Linked DNA regions of Homo sapiens: all the other regions are linked to region 1. The links are contacts of gene promoters, found by promoter capture Hi-C in human tissues and cell types (Jung and others, 2019). All regions are on one chromosome and are shown on one strand. Each heading gives the region's core, a stretch centred on a gene start or on the middle of the fragment in contact. The rest is flanking DNA. Distances are from core to core; before and after follow the strand shown.

Region 1 (3,255 bases), core at 269-2,768:
ATGTCCCCTCCTTGATGGGGCCATCTCTGAGGATAGGGACGTGGCCCTAGTGCAGAGATGCTCAGGGATGTTTAGGGAAGGAAGTCATCAAGAGACCTAGATGTGAACCCCATCCATAGCGCCTCCCAAACCATGTGGTCTTGGCCTCCCTGGGCTTTGATTCCCTCATCAGTCCTGCCTGCGCTGCCAGGCTTCTGTGAGCCTTTAATGAGCCTGTGTTGACAGATGAATGCATTCTTGGGACTACTAATCAACGCATACAACTAAGGCCAAGAGAAGCCAGGGTTTCTACCCCAGGGACCCCCTTGGCCCCACCCTCTAGCCCTGGAGCTGGGTCCCTCTGCCTCTCCCAGGATGCAGTCAGAGGCCTGAGCTTCTGGAAACTCTTGGATCTCGTCCCTGCTCCTCCCAGTCCCACCTCGGCTCCAGGTGTCTATCTCTCCAGCTATTTTCTTTTCTGATCTGGAGTTCAAAAGAACAGATCTAGGAGCAACAGCCACGGGGAACAACAGCCAGCAGGCTAGTTCATGTTGGCCCAGCTGAGAGCCTGCGGGGCTGCCCACCTCTCCCTGCTGGGTTTGGGCACCCAGAAAGGAGGGCGTATGGGTTCTGGTTCTATGGGCATTAAAAGCCAATGTGACTGAGAACAGCAGCTCTAGTTAGAGGCAAGGCCAGTTTGGGGCCAGAGCAGGGGGAGGGGGAACCTGGTCTAATTAGAGCCCTAACATGCTCCTTTGAAAGCATTGTCAGATGTCCCCAGCCCTGCAGGCAGGGGTGGTGTAATAATAATAAAACAACATTTGCATAGAGATTTCATTTATAAAGCACTTTCTCAGGGGTGGGGTGGCACTGGGTGGCCCTGTGGAATCCTGGCTGGGAGGCCGCCCTGGCCTTGGTCGGTTCCGCCCTCCCGCCAAGCTGGCGATTGTGTGCGAGGTAAACAAAGCGCCATTCATCCAACTGTTTCAGTTCCTCTCCTCTTCATTCCTTTTTCCCTGTCTCCCACGAAGAGCTCACTCGGGGCTTGTCACTCAGGCCAGAAAAGGGGTGTCAGGGGCCCCAGAGGGAGACCCCTTCCCTCATGGGAAGAAGCGGGGAGGTGGGACGGCTCCCTCCCTCTGCAAACCCCCACCACCCCCAGCTCTGGCAGAATAACAGCCTTGCTGCGGTTGGTTTGTGCAACTCTTTGCTAACCTGTGGCTGTGTCTTCATGGACAAAGTATGAGCCCAGGTTTGGTAATGTCTGTGTGCACGCCACGTTTGTGTTCGGTAACATGCAAAGATAAGCAGTTTGTGGGGCTCTGCGAATCCCTCCCTATCCGAGTGAGCCTTGTGTACACAGTGTGGGGGTGAGGGGCCCTGGGGTGTCTGCCCCTGCACTGGGTGGGCCGGGTGAGGCAGCTGGGCCCTGCTCCTGTACAGCCCAGGCTGGAGCGTCCCCTGCAGTCACCTGGCCACTGGCACCCTGGGGTGAAGGGGGAGGCATTGGGCGCTGGCCCCTTAAGGGCCTCTGATGAGCTATATTGGGCCCACCTGCCTGGGTTCCAGCAGCTTCCGCAGCCCCAGCAGGAGACGGAAGATGCAAGAGGTCATTGCGGGGCTAGAGCGGTTCACCTTTGCCTTCGAGAAGGATGTCGAGATGCAGAAGGGCACTGGGCTCCTGCCTTTCCAGGGCATGGACAGTGAGTGAGGGTGGGGCCACTTTCCCTCCCCTACCTTCTCTGTTTTTTTTTCTTTGAGACGGAGTCTCGCTCTGTAGCCCAGGCTGGAGTGTAGTGGCACAATCTCGGCTCATTGCAAGCTCTGCCTCCTGGGTTCACGCCATTCTCCTGCCTCAGCCTCCCGAGGAGCTGGGACTACAGGCGCCCGCCACCACGCCCAGCTGATTTTTTGTATTTTTAGTAGAGACCGGGTTTCACCATGTTAGCCAGGATGGTCTCAATCTCCTGACCTCGTGATCCGCCCGCCTTGGCCTCCCAAAGTGCTGGGATTACAGGCATGAGCCACCACGCCCAGCCTCCCTCCCCCTTCCTTCTCTACAGGCCTCTCTGCTCAACTCCCTGATGCGACCGCCCCTTCTCTGTCTCTCTCTTCTGTGGCTTCGGGGCAACCCATTTTCCAGACTGAGAAAGAGAGGCACAGAGAGACGGTGAATTGAGAGAAGCCACACTGGCCTCCCGAGCTCCTGGGCCAGGCTTGAGCCCCTCGAGCTCCTCTGTTTCAGAGTTGGGGGGTTAAGGGTTGAGGTCTGCTGGCTGGCTCTGCAGGTTAACCTCTACAGGGCCCAGATTTGGGATCCCATAGGCCAGAGCCTGGGGGAGGTCTAGGTGGGACATGCCGATGGAGGTGGAGGCTTCCGGAACAGCTGCAGCCTCTGGGGAAGCTACCTTCTCCGTTCCCTCTTCTCCTTCCAGAGTCGGCCTCAGCTGTGTGCAACTTCTTCACTAAAGGGCTCTGTGAGAAAGGTGAGTTAGCAGACAGGCCTGGGCCCCAAGCTGGGTGAGTGTAGGGTCTGTCTGAGCTACACCCAGCAGGGGCTCTGCCTGGCCTGGGATAGGGTGTCGAATTTGCACCTGGGGAGGGAAAATTGGGATGGAACGGAATTTTATTTTTATTTTATTTATTTATTTTTAGATGGAATCTCGCTCTGTTGCCCAGGCTAGAGTGATCTGGCGTGATCTCAACTCACTGCAACCTCTGCCTCCTGGGTTCAAGCGATTCTCCTTCCTCAGCCTCCCGAGTAACTGGAACTACAGGTGCATGCCACCAAGCCCGGCTAATTTTTGCATTTTTAGTAGAGATGGAGTTTTGTCATGTTGGCCAGGCGGGTCTCAAACTCCTCACCTCAGGTGATCCACCTGCCTGGGCCTCCCAAAGTGCTGGGATTACAGGCGTGAGCCACCATGCCCGGCCATGGAGCAGAATTTTAGACTTACAGGTAGACAAAGGATAAGTGGTTGGATCCACCGAGCAGCCTGCCCCTCCCCTAAGATTTTCCCGCCTCAGCAGCAGTCTTCATAGTTTGCAGTTCGCATCAGGGTAACCAGGCTGCCTGGAAAGGGGTATTTTTTTCTTTCTGCCTTGCTGGGATGGGCGTGTGTCTGAGCTTTGGCCTGTGCATTCCCAGGAGGCTCCAGCTTCTTAATGTTTTTCTTGATTTCCTCCCAGCTAGAAGAGAGGCATCCTTCTCCCCCAGTCCCCTGCTCTGACTCAGTTTGTAAACTGGTCAATTGTCTCATCCATTCCCTATGCCCT
Region 2 (3,255 bases), core at 567-3,066, 720 kb after region 1:
AGCAGTTTCAGGGGCAGGGTGGGCGTGGAAGTCAATTGCAGAAGCCAGAGAAATGGCTGTGAGGGGCAATGCGGAGGAGTGTTTCCAGAAAGCCAGCTCCTGGGCAGGGGGCTGTCTAAAGAGCAGGGGTGGATCTACTGTGGAGATGAGGCAGAGCCCCTCCCCTACACAGCCCTCCCTGACTGGCCTCAACTGTGTATTTACAACTTCATATCTTAAAGAGGCTGCCTCTCCCTCTAGAAAACATGTATGTTTCAGGTCTCACAAAACCTGGATCCACCTACGGCTGGGGGTTGGGGGATGGATGGAAAGATGGGATCAAGGAGTGTAAGTGAAGGAGCTGGCTCTCAGGCTCTGACTCCAGGCCAGGCAACCTTGAGTGAGTTTTTGGACCTCTGGGTGCTTCCATTTCCTTTTCTGTAAAAAACAAACAAACAAACAAACAAACATCATAAAAAACTCATGTCCTAAGGTCGTGGTAAAGGTTAAAGAAGATAAAGTACAGAAGGAATTCGCACAGTGCTTTGCACAGAGCAAACGCTCTATGCTTTTCCTGTAATTTCCTGTTATAGTGTTCATATTAATATGCATATTCCTGATTGGTGCTCTGAGAACTTTTCCGTTGCTGTGTTGGGTTCCTCCAGTGGTTTGTGGATGGAGATCATGGGGTGTGTTAGTCCATTTGCATTGCTATAAAGGACTATCTGAGCCTAGGTAGTTTGTAATGAAAAGAGGTTTATTTGGCTCAGGGTTCAGCAGGCTGTACAGGAAGCATGGCCCTGGCATCTGCTTGGCTTCCGGTGAGGCCCCAGGAAGCTTCCAATCATGGCAGAAGGTAAACGGGAACCAGCATGTTACATGGCAAGAGGGAAAGCAAGAGATGGGGGAAGGTACCAGGCCCTTTTAAACAATCACATCTCACATGAACTCTTTTCTTTCTTTCTTTTTTTTTTTTTTTTTTTGAGATGGAGTCTTGCTCTGTCACCCAGGCTAGAGTGCAGCGGCACAGTCTTGGCTCACTGCAACCTCTATCTCCCAAGTTCAACCAGTTCTCCTGCCTCAAGCCTCTCGAGTAGCTGGGACTACAGGTGCGTGCCACCGCGCCCAACTAATTTTTTTGTATTTTTAATAGAGATGGGGTTTCACCATGTTGGCCAGGCTGGTTTCGAACTTCTGACCTCCAGGGATCCACCTGACGTGGCCTCCCAAAGTACTGGGATTACAGGTGTGAGCCACCATGCCAAGCTCACATGAACTGTTCTAGTGAGAACTCACTCGTTACTGTGAAGATAGCACCAAACCATTCATGAGGAATCCACCCCCATGATCCGAACACCTCCCACTAGGCCCACCTCCAACACCGGAGATCACATTTCAGTATGAGATTTGGAGGGAACAAACAGCCAAACCATATCACGTGCTCTCTTCTTGAGTCACCCCATAATTTGTACCCAAAGACCAGGGGGCATATGGGATCACGTGCTGTTTCCAGGAGAGATGTGTTGTAGGTTTGTGGGCCTTGAAGGGCTGTGGGCAGTGATCCCGCCCAGATTCTCTAGACACATGTTCCAATGGTGTCCGCTCACAGACATGGACCCCAGATCTGCGCCATCCCCTGCAGGATGCCCCAGAGCAGCGAGATGCCCCCTTTGCTCTGGCGCCACTCTCTGAGAACCAAACCTTTTAAACTGTGAGCAAGTTGCTGGAGAAGAGAATGGGCCTGGGACTGCAAAAGTAACCTCTCTCCCGAAGGAGGAGACAGGATTCCCGAACATCCTCTGGGGCAGCCCTGGGTGGTGGAGTGCGCCTGGACAGCTGGTGTCCGTCTGCAGGCTCCTGCCTCAGGCCCTGGAGTGGCAGCTTGGCAGGTCCAGACCCTTCCCCAGGGACAGTTGCGGCTGGGAACCCTGGACCTCTTCCCTGGGCCTGAGCCGCTTCCCCGTGCGGCCGTTCGCCGAGTGGCCACTTGATGGCGCTGTGGCTCCACCGGGCGCGGGCGCGGGCGGAGCGGCGCGTCTGCTTCCAGCCGCCGGGCCGGTGCTGCCGCGGTCACCCCCGGCGCCTGGCTGTGCCCGGCGCGTCCGCCCTCCCGGCGCGCGGCTGGTGGGGCGCAGCCCTCGCGGCCGGTTCTGCCCGAAGCACAAAGCCACTGCTCAGAGCCAGCGCCTCCTGCTTGCAGCTCCCCAGTGAAAGAAGTTTGGGTCCTTGGTGGTGTTTTTCTCCCTGGCCTGGATGGTCCTGCAGAGGCCCCTTGCCACCTAATGACTTTATTCTTCTTAAAACATGTTTCTTTCTTTCTTTGCTTCTTGTTTTTGTTTTGATTTGTTTATTGGCCTGTACTCCGTTTCTGCCGTCTTACCAATAGCTCCTGACCAAGCCCGAGGCCTGCTAGAGAACTGTAGTTTAATTTAACCTCCACCGGCCAGGCTGGTCTGTTTCCTCTTTTCAAGCTTCCCTGCGGTTCTAACTTTGCTCCAGAAGATTCCTCCTGGAGCTTTTGCTTGGGAGAGAAAGGCGTTTGAACGCAGAGTTCAAGCGAGCTGGCCAAAATGGAATGCAAAAGAAGAAAATTTAAAAGAGAAAAGAAGGAGGCTTCTCAGAAATGAACTTTTCATCTGATTCCAAACATTCTGCAGTGCAGTTTTGTAAAAATACCAGAAAACACAAAGAAGCAAATAAAACACATCCATGATTTTGCGTCTAGAAATGGCTTTTGTATTTTAATATGTCTTTCCACGATTTATTGTCATTGCATAGATATACGTTCCCTTTCATCCCCCCGATTGGGTCAGTTTACTCATTTAGCTGGGTCGCCTGCTTTTTCATTGAACGCACTGGGAGCGTTTTTCCTTGGCAAGCTGGTTTCTGCAAGTTTCCCTCAAGTTTCCCTCAAACTCTTGAAGTTTTGCATGCAGGTCACTCCCAGGCAGGTTGCTGTGTGAGATAGCCTCACTGAAGCTGGGATTTGGACGTTTGGAAGAGGATGATTGAATTGTAGCTTCCAGGGAGGACAGAATTGTGAGCTCTTTTTGGAAGACCAGAGTTACCCATATTTGTTTAGCAAAGCGAGCAGGCCCACTTCAAGTCAGCGGTTCTCAAAGAGCCTGAGCAGGGTGCTGAATTCAGGCCTCTGAGCTTTGAGCGCCCCTCCCAGAACCCCTAGGCATCTGAATGTAGGTCGGAGGCTTCCCAGGCTGCCTGAAGTCTGGGGACTGAGAGGCGGGGCTCAGGGGTCACTGAATCAGCCCCTTCCTT
Region 3 (3,255 bases), core at 540-3,039, 690 kb before region 1:
CTGGGGGGAGGCGTGAAGATACAAAAGCACCAGGAACTGGCAGCAAGGCTATCCAGCGTGGCCTAACTTGGAGAGACCCCTGTTCTAATTGCAGCTCTGTCACTAAGTCGCCCAGATGACCTTGGGCAAGGAGTAGTTTCTTTGCCTTCATCATCGGCCTCATCATCATCAGCCTTTATGCAGCACTTGCTATGTGGAAGGTACCATGCCAAGCGTTTTATATGGTCTGAGTCACTGAGTCCTCACAGCAATCTGTGATGTGGGTGCTATTACCACCCCATTGTACAGATGAGAAAATCAGGAAATGAAGCCTCCTTGCATTCTCTGGGGTTTCTCAGCTCCAGCACTGGAGGACTCTGTGCTGCTTCTTTGTTGATTCAATCTAATCTAGCCAGAATCAAGGGCACACCCAGGTAGTTAGAGTAAATTACTGCACTGCACCACTGCATTAATATACAAGCCTGGAGACTTCTGGCAATTTGGGGGAGTTTCTGGATCTTTCTGGAAAATTCCTGCATTTTTCTCCCTTCCTTTTCTTCTAGAAGCAGGAGTAAGGGGAGTAGGGGCATGGCAGCCAAGGTTGTAGCATGGGAAAAGGCGTGTCTGTCTGGCAGTTCCAATTCTGTACCTGCTGAGGGCCCTCTTGGGGCCCGCCTTTCCTCCTTTTTTTGGGAAATGTGGCATTGGATTCTCTGACAGCCTTGCCATCTTCTCTATAAGTAGGGGCTCTCCAGGAGGGCAATTAGATACTTCCCTAGGGTCTGAAAATGACCAGCACTCAGATACTTTCCCATAAAGGGGAAGACATGCGTGGCTGTGGCTAAGGAAGTCCCTCTCCCATTCCATCTCCATGGACACCAGCCAGAACATCTACTCCAGGAAGCATCCGAGGTGGAGCTGCCCATGCCAGAGCTTCCCCCAGCACCGTCCAACTAGGGGGTGACCCAGGTGTCTGGCTGGACACTTGCTGCTGGCAGAGTTGTGTCATCATTGCCAAAGAAATCTCAATGGAAACAGCCCGATCTGCTCAGGGGGAATTACAGACTAATGGGAGAAGAGGTGATGGCGATAGGTTCACACATACTCACACATCTAGGAAAGTGAAATGGCTAACCTCCCACAGGAATGGGGCTCAGGTTGAATTCATTACTCACCAAAACGATGCCCAATAAAGAGGGAGATCCGAGTGGAGTGGAACGATTCCAGAAAGTGCCTTAGAAGTGAGGTTTTTAGTTTTTGCTTTTCGGATCTCCCCTCCCCTTCCCGTCCCTTCCTTCTTTTCTGTCTTTTCTTCTTTTCTTCCTTTCTTTTTTTTTTTTTTTTTTTTTTTGACAACATCTTGTTCTATCATGGCTCACTGCAACCTTGACTGGAGGGGCTCAATTATTCTCCCACCTCAGCCTCCCAAAGTGCTCGGATTACAGGCATGAGCCACTGTGCCGGGCTAAGTAGTGAGCTGAGGCAGAACTCCCATCTTTTAAAGGCCACACCCACCCACTACCCTCCCATCTTGACTGATGCCTTGATTGTACCCAGACCTGTGCCAAGGTGCAGGGAAAACTGCTTGCTGATTTAGTCATTTATTTATTCATGCCACAACCCAAAGTTGAAAGTCTACTTGCCAAACACACAGTGCCTGCGGTGATGCAGGGAGATTTTCTTGGAACGGGGATTTTGTCAATCAAGGCTCTAAGTCAGGAAGTACATGGAATACAGGCAGACAATTAAGGACGTTGACATTCTCCATTCTCTTTTTTGGAGAATGGCCCAGTGGTTTTATCCAAGGCTGCTTTGAAGCTCCAAGTTCAACCTGTAAAATGGCGGCCACTATGCATTCTTACGTACATTGAAGCTTGGGTAGCTCCTGTCTGCTCATTGAAGAAACACTTATGATGAACCTGTGTGCCCTGCACTGTGCTGCATGATTTGGGCGGGGAGGGGGAAGATGCAGAGAAACAATAGGTGATGTCCTTGCCACCAAGGTGCCCTTGGGCTCATGATGCCTCTGCTCAGATCCCACCTGCCTGACCTGAATACGCCTGTACCTCTCACCACTCCACTGTCCACAATGTCTGTGTAGCTGGTAGACACTGCCTGGGCTTCAGTACGAGATTGTGTGTGTGTGTGTGTGTGTGTGTGACTGTGTGAATGTGTGTAAGCATGTCTGTTGTGAGAATGTGCATAATAGGGTGTGTGTGAATGTGCCTGTGTGAATGTGAGTGTGCCTGTGTGAGTTTGTCTCTGTCATGTATGTGAATGTGAGTCTGTGTTGCTGAGTGGGTATGCAAATGAGTATGTCTGAGTATGGGTGGGTCTGTGTGTTTATAGGTCTGTGTATGAGTGTGCCAGTATGTGTATTGGTGTGTAAGTGGGTGTGTGGTGTGCAAATGAGTGTACCTGTGTGCATTGGTGTGTGCATCTGTGAGGGGTCTATGTGTGTATTTGTGTCTGCGTGTGTCTGTGTATTTGTAAGGTATCTTGCATGAGTGTGTGAATGGTGTGTGCGTATATGTGTGTAAGTTTTGTGAGTCTGTGAATGAATGTGGGTGTTGGTGTTGTGTGTGAATGAGCATGCGTGTGGTGTGATCTTGTGTGAGGGGGTGTGTCTGTGTGTGAATGAATCTGTGTGAATGTGTGCATGAATGTGTGCCTGTGCGTCTCTGTGTGTATATGTATATGTGATTCTGTGTGTGTGTATATGTGATTGTGTGTGTCTGTGTTTATGTGATTCTGTGTGTCTCTGTGTGTATGTGATTCTGTGTGTCTGTATGTATATATGTGATTCTGTGTGTTCTGTATGTGTATATGTGTGTGTCTCTGTGTATATGTGTATGTGATTCTGTGTGTCTCTGCGTGTGTATGATTGTGTCTGTGTGTATGTGATTGTGTGTGTATATGTGATTCTGTGTGTGTCTGTGTGTGTATATGTGATTCTGCGTGCATATGTGATTATGTGTCTCTGTGATTGTGTATCTCTGTGTATATGTGATTGTGTGTCTGTGTGTATATGTGATTCCGTGTATATGTGATTGTGTGTCTGTGTATATGTGATTCTGTGTGTGTATGTGTGTGTATATGTGATTCTGTGTGTCTCTGTGTGTATGTTTATGATTCTGTGTGTGTCTGTGTGTATGTGTATATGTGATTGTGTGTTTGTGTGTGTGTGTCTGTGATTGTGTGTTAGGGTGTGTGAATGTGAGTGTGTGGGCATGGGCATGTGGGAATGTGTGTGTGAGGGTGTAAATACGTGAGGGT

What was found. Contacts are between HindIII fragments. The study calls those that stand out against the background at their distance.
Region 2: a fragment that was not itself captured here is called in contact with the fragment with the promoter of CPSF4L in region 1 in 1 of the 25 tissues and cell types used here (dorsolateral prefrontal cortex).
Region 3: a fragment that was not itself captured here is called in contact with the fragment with the promoter of CPSF4L in region 1 in 1 of the 25 tissues and cell types used here (hippocampus).

The regions. Positions count from the first base shown.
Region 1 is chr17:73,260,143-73,263,397 of GRCh38, reverse strand. It overlaps CPSF4L (cleavage and polyadenylation specific factor 4 like), which reads left to right and starts at 1,518. Exons shown (of 6, transcript NM_001129885.1): 1 at 1,518-1,682; 2 at 2,415-2,465. The coding sequence starts at 1,580. The HindIII fragment of the contact is 16,084 bases long and covers 1-3,255 here.
Region 2 is chr17:72,539,225-72,542,479 of GRCh38, reverse strand. All of the region lies in intron 1 of LINC00673 (long intergenic non-protein coding RNA 673), which reads left to right. Among named protein-coding and RNA genes, the nearest start is that of LINC00673, 52 kb to the left of the region's middle. RefSeq lists a silencer at 1,878-2,127. The HindIII fragment of the contact is 3,812 bases long and covers 1-3,255 here.
Region 3 is chr17:73,953,480-73,956,734 of GRCh38, reverse strand. No RefSeq gene overlaps it. Among named protein-coding and RNA genes, the nearest start is that of LINC00469, 130 kb to the right of the region's middle. The HindIII fragment of the contact is 4,278 bases long and covers 1-3,255 here.